Regions from separate parts of the Homo sapiens genome. Here all the other regions are linked to region 2. The links are contacts of gene promoters, found by promoter capture Hi-C in blood cells and fetal thymus (Javierre and others, 2016). All regions are on one chromosome and are shown on one strand. The core of a region is centred on a gene start or on the middle of the fragment in contact, and the rest is flanking DNA. Distances in the headings are between cores, read along the strand shown.

Region 1 (2,700 bases), core at 169-2,668, 3.2 Mb before region 2:
TCAGGAATTCGAGACCAGTCTGGCCAACATAGTGAAACCCCTTCTCTACTCAAAATACAAAAAATTGGCCAAGCGTGGTGGTGGGCGCCTGTAATCCCAGCTACGCAGGAGGCTGAGGCAAGGAGAATCGCGTGAACCCGGGAGGCGGAGGTTGCAGTGAGCCGAGATTGCGCCACTGGACTCCAGCCCTGGCAACAGTGCGAGACTACGTCTCAAAAAAAAAAAAAAAATGTAAGAATAGGCCGGACACAGTGGCTCACGCCTGTAATCCCAGCACTTTGGGAGGCAGAGGCGGGCAGATCACGAGGTCAGGAGTTCGAGAGCAGCCTGGCCAACAGGGAGAAACCCCGTCTCTACTAAAAATACAAAAATTAGCTGGTGTGGTGGTGTGCACCTGTAATCCCAGCTACTGGGGAGGCTGAGGCAGGAGAATCACTTGAACCTGGGAGGTTGAAGTTGCAGTGAGTGGAGATCGTGCCATTGCACTCCAGCCTGGGCGATAGGGCGAGACTCCATCTTAAAAAAAAAAAAGTAAGAGGCCGGGCGCAGTGGCTCATGTCTCTAATCCCAGCACTTTCGGAGGCTGAGGCGGGCAGATCATCTCAGGTCAGGAGTTCCAGACCAGCCTGACTAACATGGTGAAACCCCGTTTGTCCTAAAAATACAAAAAATTAGCCGGGTGTGGTGGTGCACACCTGTAATCCCAGCTACTCAGGAGGCTGAGGCAAGAGAATCCGCTTGAACCCGGTAGGCGGAGGTTGCAGTGAGCCGAGATCGCGCCGTTGCACTCTAGCTTGGGCAAGAAGAGCGAAACTCCGTTTCCAAAAAAAAAAAAAAAAAAAAAAAGTAAGAATATACCCAGGCAGGATATTTATAGAGGAAATGCAGCAATCTAATATTTATCATTAATTAGAAAACTTTAATTTGTAATCTACCAAAACAGTGAAAACAACCAACCCTTCCCCCGCCCCCCAATACAAACCCTCCGTTGCCTACTCCAGGGACAAGAGGCGTCACCATCGCTGAGGAGCTGGTTAGGAATGTCGGCTCTCCGACCCTAGCCCAGACTTACTGAATCAGAATGTGCATTTACCACGACGACCAGGTCATTACACGCATTTTACAGTTTCAGAACCCCTGCTATAGCCTACTGTACTTCAGCGCCAATATTTTGCTGAAAAGAATTCCCAGCTGGAACTGTGGCTCCCGGAGTCTTTCACCAGATGGCAGCAGCCCACTCCTCCCTGTAGCACTCCCATTGTTCCAGGCAGGATTCAGCCGCAGGCTCCTCCGGAAGACCAGGGGCAGACGGGGCGGTGGCGGGGTCGTGCCCAGTGGGAGGGGTCGGGTCTGCCCAATGGGTTCTCCCGGGCGGGGGGCGGGGCTCTATTTCAGCAGCTCTCAGGGCCTTGGGCTCATCCCGAGTCCCGGGCTCAGTATGTGGCGCCTTCCTCGCGCGCTGTGTGTGCACGCTGCAAAGACCAGCAAGCTCTCTGGACCTTGGAGCAGGCCTGCCGCCTTCATGTCCACTCTCCTCATCAATCAGCCCCAGTATGCGTGGCTGAAAGAGCTGGGGCTCCGCGAGGAAAACGAGGGCGTGTATAATGGAAGCTGGGGAGGCCGGGGAGAGGTACGCGGGCGCTCAAGAAATCTCTGCAGCCGCCGGGGCTCGCTCGAGGAGGCCGGGCGGGCACTGACCTACCGACTCCCCGCTGGCGCTGGATGCGGTAGTAGCATGGGAGATTTTGAAGCTCCACAGTAAAAGTTTTCTCGTGTAGGGTGCCTTTAAAACAAAAACTTAGATTTTAGGTCCTTGTGTGCTATGCAGAATCGACGTCATTTTGGAGCTGTAGGGGCTAAACTTCCCGCGCATATTTAAAACATTATGGTCTACCGGGCGCGGTGGCTCACCCCTGTAATCCCAGCACTTTGGGAGGCCTAGGCGGGCGGATCACCTGAGGTAGCGAGTTCAAGACCAGCCTGACCGACATGGAGAAACCTTGTCTCTACTAAAAAAAATACAAAATAGCCGGGCGTGGTGGCGCATGCCTGTAATCCCAGCTACTAGGGAGGCTGAGGCAGGAGAATCGCTTGAACCCGGGAGGTGGAGGTCGTAGTGAGCCGAGATCGTGCCATTGCACTCCAGCCTGAGCAACAAGAGCGAAATTCCGTCTCAAAAAAAAAAAAAAAAAAAAAAATTAAAACCTTATGGTCTTGGGATCTATGGTCTTGTGAGAAATGTGGCACACTGAGCGGTGCAACTGATCTTAATTTAGAGCTTAACTCTGGCTCTTCAGCTGTGACGTGCACCGCAGGTAACGTTCTTCAGTGTAGTTTTAAGTTATCTTCCTTCCTGAATTCTTTGGGAGTTTGCAAGCTTGGACGTGCCGAAATCTTGCCATGTTGTACGTTGGGCTGTGAACTCCTTTGAGGACTGGATTTTCAGCATTTCTCCATTGCCCAGGGCTTAACACCGCGCCTGATACCCATTACTGCTCAAAACAATGTTTTATAGAATACAATGGAAAGGTAAGGTTATTATCGCCCAGATTTTTTTTTAAAAGAAAGTTTTTTATAGGAGGATGTTATGTAACAGTTAACAAACTTTGTTGGACGTTGTATATTATATAATGAACCTGCCTTGGTAGAGGGAACACGTCTTTTGGTAATCAGTGGCTGTAGGAGATACAGATAATTTTA
Region 2 (2,962 bases), core at 384-2,883:
CCAAGTAGCTGGGATTTCTGGCTTGCGCTACCACGTCTGGCTAATTTTTGTATTTTTAGTAGAGACGGAGTTCTGCTATGTTGGCCAGGTTGGTCTCGAACTCCTGACTCAAGTGATCCGCCCACCTCAGCCTCCCAAAGTGCTGGGATTACAGATGTGAGCCACTACCACACCTGGCCAAAAAGTCTTCATCTTTTAGAAGTACGTATCCAAAAAGATGAATTGATGTGATGTTGGGGATTTCTTTAAAAATAACACAACAGATGAAGATGATTGGTCTTAAGTTGATAATCGTTGAAGCTGGGGTCTGGGTAACTGGGGGTTCATTATATCATTCTGCTTTCTTTAAAGTATGTTTGACATCTTCCACAAAAATAATGCATTGTTCAATGATGAATCCAAAGTAGATCATTACTTTGATTTTACATTGAATAGTGCTTCATTTTAAGAATGCCTGTGATAGGACCTGAAAGGGCCTTAGAAGTAATTAGTCCAATCTCTACATATTCCTCCTTTTCTTTTGGGCAGAAAGCAAAGAAGGAAGAATAAAGAAGAGGAAGAAGAAAACAATAGTGATATTATATTATTTGCTCTCAAAATAACTTCTAAATTTCCAAAACAAGGAAGCAATAGAAGAAAAAGAAAACAGCGAGATATTATATTTGCTCTCAAAACAACTTCTCAATTTACAAAACCAGAAAGTAATAGGAGAAGCCGCACTTATGTCCACTACCTAGTGCTATCTCTGCAGCTTTATTTTATTATGATTTACTTTTGTTTTCCGAAGCAGAATTTTTCCCAAACTTAATAGTGTCCACGATCGCTCCAACCAATTCGGTTATTTAAGTTTCAAGCTAGATAACCTCCAAAAGAACTTTGCCTTTGACTTGAATACATGCTTCTTGCAATTTGAGTAGTGTTTAGGAGGCCGTTCCCTTTACAAGTCTTGAACCGTTTCTTAAATCTGAATTTGGGAGACGTTAAGGGGAAAGGGTCGGCAGACAGCACCTCAATGCCTTGTTTATTTTTGGTTTTGAGTTTGCTAATAACTTTGTCATCGGGGGTGGAAGAACCTTTATATTTCATTGCCCACGTGACAGTGTTTTTGTTTTAGGGGTAATTTCTAAGGGACAGGAAATTCTCGGGGAGTTTACGTCAGCTTTAACAAGTACAGTAATTACCGTATTGAAGCTACTTGTTTTCAAAGGTCGGAAATTTGAGGTGCCGCGTGAGCACGATTTAGGGACTTTAGAGTTTAGATTTAAGTCATTATTTTTTTGTGATTTAATTTTTTAAGCAGTGTTGACACTGGGTACGTCAACTAAGCTAGGTTTTTTTGTTTTTTTAATCCCCACTAATATAACTCTCAGGTTGTGGCTGAAGCATAAAGCAGGTAATACGCTACACTCACGCTCCTTAAAGGCTACGCAGCTTCAGGAAGCGTTTACAGCAGTAGTGCGCTTGCGCAGCTGGTCCCACACCAAGTCGCCCGCCTCTCCTCGTCCGGCTAGCAGAGGGCGCTGTGAGGTAATGAAGGCGTCCTCCTTAGGGCTCTGGAACAGAGCGTAAAAGGGCGGGAGGCGAAGCTCGCTGACGGGCGTTCTAGCCTTGACTGCTCTGTCTCTATCACCCGTTGTCCTCCAACCTCCCCTGGGCACTGGGCCTGCGGGCCTGGTTGCTAGGCGGAAGCTGGGCGCGGCGGCGGCCGCTGCGGCCGCCCGGGCGTTTGAAAAGCGGCTACGCAGGCGGCAAAAGGTCCTCGGGTGGCGGGCTTGTCTCTGCTTGCAGACTGGCAGGGCTGCAGCGTGGCTTTTTCCTTGAGTCGGGGCACAGTTAGGATCTGGGCTGGCGGCCCGAGGCAGAGGAGCCGGGCGCGCTGCAGCAGACGGCGGTGGGACCTGGCTGCGGAGCGGGGTCCGGGCATCAGGGACCGGGGGCGGGCAGTGGGGGTCCCGCCGGGGGTCCCGGATTACCCGCGACTCAACTGGACCTCACTTCCCCCCAGCCGCCTTCGCCCCCGGACCGCTCACCGCAACCATGGTCTCCAAATCCGACCAATTGCTCATCGTCGTGTCCATCCTAGAAGGTGAGCAGCCTGAGGCTTGCTTTTGCAACTGCTGCCTCCCGAGTTTTAAAAGCTTAGTGTGGGACCGAGGCCTTGTTAACCTTAAGAACCCTGTCATCTGTGCTTTTGTGGTCCCCACAGACTTGTTCAAAGTTGTACGTAGTGAGGTCTGTTAGGCAATTGATTTAAAAATCTCTCCAGGGATATGAGCGCTATTAGGGATAAGTGATATTTAGCGTGACTAGCCGTAGCCCCAGAGAATCTAGAGAAAACGATTTTCATCCAAAGCAGCACGTCGATGGCTTTTATATATGAGCTGAACGTGGTCCTGAGAAGCGCGTTCTGATCAGCGGTTCCCAATAATAGCACTTGTAAGAGCTTTGACTTGAATACAGGCTTCCTGCGATTCCAGAAGTGTTCCGGAGGCAATTCCCTTTACACGTCTTGCTGGAGGACTCAGGGGACTACAGTTCTTAAGAGGGTGTATTATACATTCCTTAAAAGGTGTGTTTTGGATGAATGACATTGGTTTATTGGGACTCATTGAGTGTCAGACACTGTGCTGGGAATGTAAGAATGAAACAGTCCTGATTCTAAAAAGCTAAGGATGTAGCAAGGAGAGTGTGTCAGCAAATAATTCATCAGGATGTGGAAGACCCTAATGAATGACCACCTCTGTCTAAGGAAACTGCGGAAGTTTCACTAGAGGAGGTGGCATTTTTTGGGGTCCTACAGATGATTAGGAATTTGTCAGGTGAAAAAAGGAAGGGCATTCCAGGCAAAGAGAAGAGCAGGGAGCACTTAAAGTATGGAAAAGCAAGACACGTTTTGCCTTGCTTAATTAAATTCACTCAGTAAACATTGGTTAAATTCAGTGTGGTTGGAGAACAGATTTGC
Region 3 (2,874 bases), core at 45-2,544, 3.6 Mb before region 2:
TTCATTCTTACTAATACGGGTTAGGTGCCTACCCATGGCAAGAGCAGTTCTAGGCAGGGAGAGGCCCCTACCCACCCACAGCTGACGGTCTAGGGCTTGTTTACATTCTAGGTTTCAGCGGGAAAGCAAGAACACCCAACTCCCTGCTTTTGATTCTATGTTAGTAGCTCAGCGCGCCTGTGCGAGCACGTGCTGCAGCCAGGGTAGGGGCTCAGAAACTGGTTGACAAGATGAGCAGTGGGGTCCTAGGGGGTTGGGCGGGAAGGGCCCACAAGGCCATATTCCAGGCTGTTCGGCTGCGAGTGACCCCTGAGAGGTCGGGATCTCCGAGCTCGTCCGATGTCTCCATCCCAGCCAGGAGCTTGCGAAGGGGAAGGAGGGCGGAAGCAGAGTGGGACAGATGTGGTTCGTTCTGGGGCTTCCTGTCCACGAAGATGGATAATTCTAGCGACCCGCCTGGGATTTTGGAATCCTGGCGGACCCAAAAGACAGCAGAAGTCACCGCAGAGGATGCCACCCCGCACGGCAGCCCGCCCAGAGCGACGGTCTCACAGGTTCCGGCGCCGTCGAGCGCCCAAGCCTCCTGTTGGCCGCCAGCTGTGTCCGCGACGCGCTGGGTCGGGAGGAGGAGACCCGAGGCGCCGGTAAGTCCCCCGCTGCAGGTGGCCCGGAGGGCAGGGGTGAGGACGGGGACGTGTACTGAACTTTGGGAGGTTTGCGGGGCTGGAGTTTTGTTTCAGAGATAGCCAGATCGAGATCAGAACGTTTTCCAGAGAGCCCAGGTTTCCACTTGTGGCTGGGCGACCCGGTCCGGAATTCATCCTTTCTCGGCCCTCAGCTTCCTCCGGGCGGGGTTCCGATGGGGCAGCTAAGTTCCGCGCCTCCTGCCGGTGCCAGATACTGGCGTGTCGACCCGCGCTGCGGTTGGCTTCTTGCTCCACAGCGCTATGCGCGCGGCGGCTCCGAGGGCTCCTGGTCTCTCTCAGCCAACGGCCTTCTGGGGCCGCCGCCTCCCTCTAGAGCTGCTCGGGTCCCATTGCAGAGAGTCCCGCAGCGCCCGCCGGCAGCCACGGCACTTCGCAATAACCAACTTCCCCGCCGCCGGCGCGTCCCGCCAGCCTGCCCTCGGCCGCAGGCGACTGGACGGCGGTTACGGGGCGGTCCCAGCGCCACCACGACTGGCTGTCGGCTCCGCCAGTCATGGGCTGATGACGCCCCGGGGCTGGCTCCGCCCCTAGCGGCAGCCCCGCCTCCCCTCCAGAGCCTGGTCGGCTTAGCCCTGCTTTCCGCCTCACTCGTTGAGCAGGTCCGTGAATTGTCAGCGCGCTGTGGGCGACTGTGTGGCCGCGGCGGCCGCCAGGCTTGCCGCACTCCCCCTGAGGTGCCCGCCGGAACCAATGTGCCCTGGTCCACTGGGCCGTGAGCAGCCACCGACTGGGGGCAACTTGGCACTTAGAACCGCAGCAGGGACGTCGGTTTGCTATCGGGACTCGGCGAGGACGGTGAGTGGCCGCGCGCCGGGCTAGCGGCTCCTCTCGGCGCGGTTCGGCGGCGGCGAGAGGGGACGGGACGCGTCCTGGCGCTCGGCGGTCCGTTCGTCCGAGCGTGACCGCTGTGGGGAGGTCAGGGCTGGGCGGGATTTACTCCGTGCCAATATCCCCACTCCCGAACTTCTTCTTGTCAAAGCATCCCAACTCCGCCCGGGACGCGGTTCCAGTCCGCACCAACTTGGCGTAATTGACATGGGTAGGTGGGGCCGGGACGCGTCCCCTGCCCCTCTGCGGCAACGACATGGAGCGCTGGGGCGGCCTCCGCGCCCGCGGCGTGCGGACCGCGGTTCCTGAAAAATTACCCGCGCTGTGCGGTACGGTAAGACCCGGCGTCCGCGTCTGGATCTCAAGGCTGAGCGAGCGCTCATCGGGCTCAAGGTGGGTCTCAGCGCCAGAGAACTGGAGTACCAGCCGGGTTCTGTAGCGGGGGCTTCAGTGCTCTGCAGCTACTGAGAGGAATTGAGAGCACTGCTGGGCTTTGAACTTTCTAAAGTAATTGCTTTCTATTAGCACTTGAATCCATGACCCTCCTGAGGTGCTCGGACCTCCACATCCACCCGCAAGGGGTGTCCGAAGGACTTCGTTAGGACCAGGCGGGAGCTGCTGTCGGTTCTGGTGCCCAGTGCCTTGGAGAATCCTAGAGGCTGCGAAAGGGATTGCCAGCCTGGTCGGTTGGTGTTTGTTTGAGCACCTGCGTGTTTAAGTGATGAAGTTGAGTCAGGAATTGACAGCAGAGAACTCAAGGTTAAACCTGACACTCCGTTTGTGACTCGGTCTGGGTTAGATTGTTTTCCCCCCTTAATGGTAAGGGGGTAAAAGCAGCTTGTTTTTCTGAGACCAACTACATGCATGTAGTTTATATTATGTGCGGAATAAACAGAATTCAATACGATATTTTCTTACAATTCTTATTTGACATGAATAAGAGCTTTTGAAAATACTAGACAGAAACAGGTCCAGAATTTGGGGATGTTTAGACCTTTGAAAATACATGAAAATGTTGAGATATATAGTTCTGTATGTGTATATGAAGATGTAGATGCGCATATACACACATACATACGTGTATATGTGTGAGTGTGTGTATATATAAAATTAAAAGGTGAATGAGGTAAATATATGAAGGGGAAATTCAGCCTTGAACTTCCCTTGGGTCACAGAGATGGATCCTCTGAGCTGTGGGGTGTTAGTGAGTGTGTATGCGTAAGCATGTCTGCATCTGCCTGGTCTGTCTGGGTCAGAGTATGTCCATGAACTTTACGAGCGTTCAGTTCAATACCACTCAGTGCAGAATCCGCGTTCCTGTTTTACAGCCCAGCAGCCG
Region 4 (2,914 bases), core at 279-2,778, 4.1 Mb before region 2:
TACTACAGATGCTCCCCAATCCTTACAATGACTAGTAGAAGTCCTATTGTAAGAGAATCCCTAACATTAACAAATGTGTCTGCAAAAGAAACTGTACAATGAATACAAAGTCATTAAGTGGAATAAATAATCAATTTCTTTGTCTTTAATGGCTTTTTATATGAAAACTGCCGTAATGGCAATACTGAGGTAAATTTTACATGCATAAACATAGTGCCTTCTACTAAAAAAACCTATTATGATAAAACAATACTGAAGTGTCAGAGTTGGTAACTGTTTTAGGGCTCAAGTCTTGTCACGAAAAGTACTATTCATATATCAACACTAAAGAAAAAGTGAAGAAAATGGTTTGGAAAACTGAGTTCTCAGTCCGGCTAGACCCTGTTGTTCCAATTTGCTTGTGCCTTGGTTTTTCTGTTAAAAAAAAAAAAAAAAAGTGGATGTCTATTTACAAGTTTACAAGAAATGGAAGAGTGAAGCTCTGATAAACTTTAAAGCATTAAGAGCAATTATTGCTGACCTACTCGTGCCACAAGATTGTCTCTACTACCAAACAGTGAGCGCTAGTTAGAGCCTAATCTGACCCCGAAATAAAATTTTATAAATTTTCACTGAATTAAACACTGGCTGCACAGGAGAAAGACTGAATGCCAAGATGTGTCACGATCGCAGAAATGCACATGTTGTCTCTCAAAATAACTACTTCGAATGACAAAAACACTATTGGCTATAAATTCTGTCAATCTAGGAAACGTGCTATCTGCAAATTTGCCTGAAGCAGGTCCCAAGACCAAACAAAGAAACGAGAGAATGCAAAAACTCTCCCAAGCGGCGCTAAGCACCGATGGGGTAACCTCAGGGAAAATAAGCTTCCTTTCATTGCAGGTCCTGGTGTGATGACTCTCGAGCCTCCTGGGCCTCTCCAGGGCCAGAGCGGCCGAAATCCTGTTTCAGGAGACAGCGGCTTCCCCTCAGGCTCTGCCACGTCTCCAGGCCAGACAGGGCCGGGCTAAGGTCCGCCGGCGCTCCCGCCAGTCTCCCCTAAAGTCAGCGCCCTGGAAGGTGGGGCCAGAGCGCTCCTGCCTTGGTCCTTGGACAGGAGCAAAGTGTCGCGGGGCGAGACCCTCGAACCGCGCCCACCGTGCCATCCCCAGCGGAAACTGCTCACCTTGCGATGTGCACTCCTGCCTGCTGCACCCCGCACGCCGCCACAGCTGAGCCTGGACCACGGGACTAGGGGGCTCGCAAACGACATCGGCGTCCAGTGGCGCCGGCCGGCCCGCCCACCTTCCAGGGACACCGTCCCTCGGGGTCTGGCTCTGGCGCCTGCAAGCCATGCCATGCCATGCCACCCCCCTCATACACGCCCCTCGGAGCCACCTGGCGCTCACCTGGGGACCGGGAAAGTGCCTGCGTGGTCGCTGAAGAGTGTGGTATGATAGGGAGGTCGGGACGTAGAACTACAGCTTGGAGAAGACAACGAAGGCGCACCCTGGAAGTTACCTCGGCGTGTCCCCGCCTACAAGATGGCCACGGGCGGCGCATGCTCCTGCGGCTGCCACGTCGGCCGCGCGCCGCACCGCGCCGCGCGTCGCCGCCCCGCCCCGCTCCGCCCCGCATCGCATCGCCCCGCTCCGCCTCCGCATCGCCCCGCCCCCCCTGTCCCATGCGCTGTGAACCCGGCCGGGACGCTGCAAGTTAAACTTTGGAGCCAAGATCTTCCTAACTACCGAGACTTGGTTCTGCCCACACCCTCTAGAAACATCTTCCAAAGGGCTGGCCTCCTTTCTACTTCGCAGCCCCCTTACACGAGAGTGGCACTCTTGTTACCAGGCGTAGCTCACTCATCCTGTGCCACAGCGGCCCAAGGGATAAGATCAGTTAGCCAAGGTCATCTGGTTGGCGGTCATCTAGCCAACATCAGCTAGTCCAGTCAGCACCTCCAGGAAGGACCTCGCGGCAGATACAGGGGACTTAGCCTGTATAGTCAAAGATTTCCAGATAACAGTGATTATATCAGGAGAGAGGGATTAGGAGAAGAGGGAGAGGGGAGAAGAGTAGCAGTTACTGTACTGAATTTTTCCCCAAGTGCATGTATTGCACATTCTTTTTTTAATTGTAAAATAGACAGATTATCAACTTTCTTATTATATGCTGCACCTAACACAGTACCTGAAATAGTTGGTGTTCAATAATGTACATTAAATAAATTAATGGAGTGCGATAGAGGAAAATAAGGAACTTCAAATCAGAAGTCTTGATTTGAGTCTGAGACTACTCTAATGCCAGTTGTACAGTTGCCTGCCCTTGTACAGGTCACTTAGTCTCCATAAGTCTTCATATTTCTACCTGCAAACTGAGAATAATACTATCCACCATCCCTAAATCAGGCAGGTGACAGACTCAAATAAAATAGAGCATATGAAAATTTTTTAAACTTTTTGTCTTTTTGAGATGGTGTCTTGCCCTGTTGCCCAGGCTGGAGTGCAATGGCGCCATCTCGGCTCACTGCAACCTCTGCCTCCCGGGTTCAAACGATTCTCCTGCCTCAGCCTCCCGAGTAGCTGGGATTACAGGCACAGGCCACCACACCCAGCTAATTTTTGTACTTTTAGTAGAGACAGGGTTTCACCATTTTGGCCAGGCTGGTCTCGAACTCCTGACCTCGGCCCGCCTCGGCCTCCTAAAGTGCTGGGATTACAGGCGTGAGCCACCGCACCTGTCCGAAAACATTTTTTAAATTGCTTAGCATTAAATATATAAAAAATTGTTTTTGTTGTTCTCAATTTTTTTTCAGGAACTCACTTAGAGATTTCACATTAATCTATCTCTTGAGCTTCACAGTTGTAAGCATTCCAAAATACCTCACTGAAAAGTTAATACTATGTAGCAATACTCTGACTTCAGATCTCAC

Evidence for each region. The method cuts DNA at HindIII sites, captures the fragments that hold promoters and counts their contacts. A CHiCAGO score of 5 or more calls a contact.
Region 1: a contact is called between the fragment with the promoter of ALDH7A1 here and the fragment with the promoter of CEP120 in region 2, in 1 of 17 cell types (M0 macrophages). The highest score is 5.1, in M0 macrophages.
Region 3: the fragment with the promoter of MARCHF3 here is called in contact with the fragment with the promoter of CEP120 in region 2 in 1 of 17 cell types (monocytes); the score reaches 8.8 in monocytes.
Region 4: a contact is called between the fragment with the promoter of PRRC1 here and the fragment with the promoter of CEP120 in region 2, in 2 of 17 cell types (non-activated CD4 T cells and fetal thymus). The highest score is 6.5, in non-activated CD4 T cells.

Annotation. Positions count from the first base shown.
Region 1 is chr5:126,593,937-126,596,636 of GRCh38, reverse strand. It overlaps ALDH7A1 (aldehyde dehydrogenase 7 family member A1), which reads left to right and starts at 1,418. Exons shown (of 18, transcript NM_001182.5): 1 at 1,418-1,630. The coding sequence starts at 1,439. The HindIII fragment of the contact is 2,913 bases long and covers 1-2,379 here.
Region 2 is chr5:123,422,074-123,425,035 of GRCh38, reverse strand. CEP120 (centrosomal protein 120) reads left to right here and starts at 1,633. Exons shown (of 20, transcript NM_001375405.1): 1 at 1,633-2,086. The coding sequence starts at 2,038. RefSeq lists a silencer at 1,933-2,092 and an enhancer at 1,422-2,367. The HindIII fragment of the contact is 3,797 bases long and covers 1-2,140 here.
Region 3 is chr5:127,028,978-127,031,851 of GRCh38, reverse strand. It overlaps MARCHF3 (membrane associated ring-CH-type finger 3), which reads left to right and starts at 1,294. Exons shown (of 5, transcript NM_178450.5): 1 at 1,294-1,502. It overlaps LOC105379163 (a long non-coding RNA gene), which reads right to left and starts at 509. Exons shown (of 2, transcript XR_007058920.1): 1 at 1-509. RefSeq lists an enhancer at 412-956 and a silencer at 953-1,332. The HindIII fragment of the contact is 7,560 bases long and covers 1-2,874 here.
Region 4 is chr5:127,516,254-127,519,167 of GRCh38, reverse strand. PRRC1 (proline rich coiled-coil 1) reads right to left here and starts at 1,528. Exons shown (of 9, transcript NM_130809.5): 1 at 1,392-1,528. RefSeq lists an enhancer at 1,351-1,530 and a silencer at 1,591-1,660. The HindIII fragment of the contact is 4,735 bases long and covers 872-2,914 here.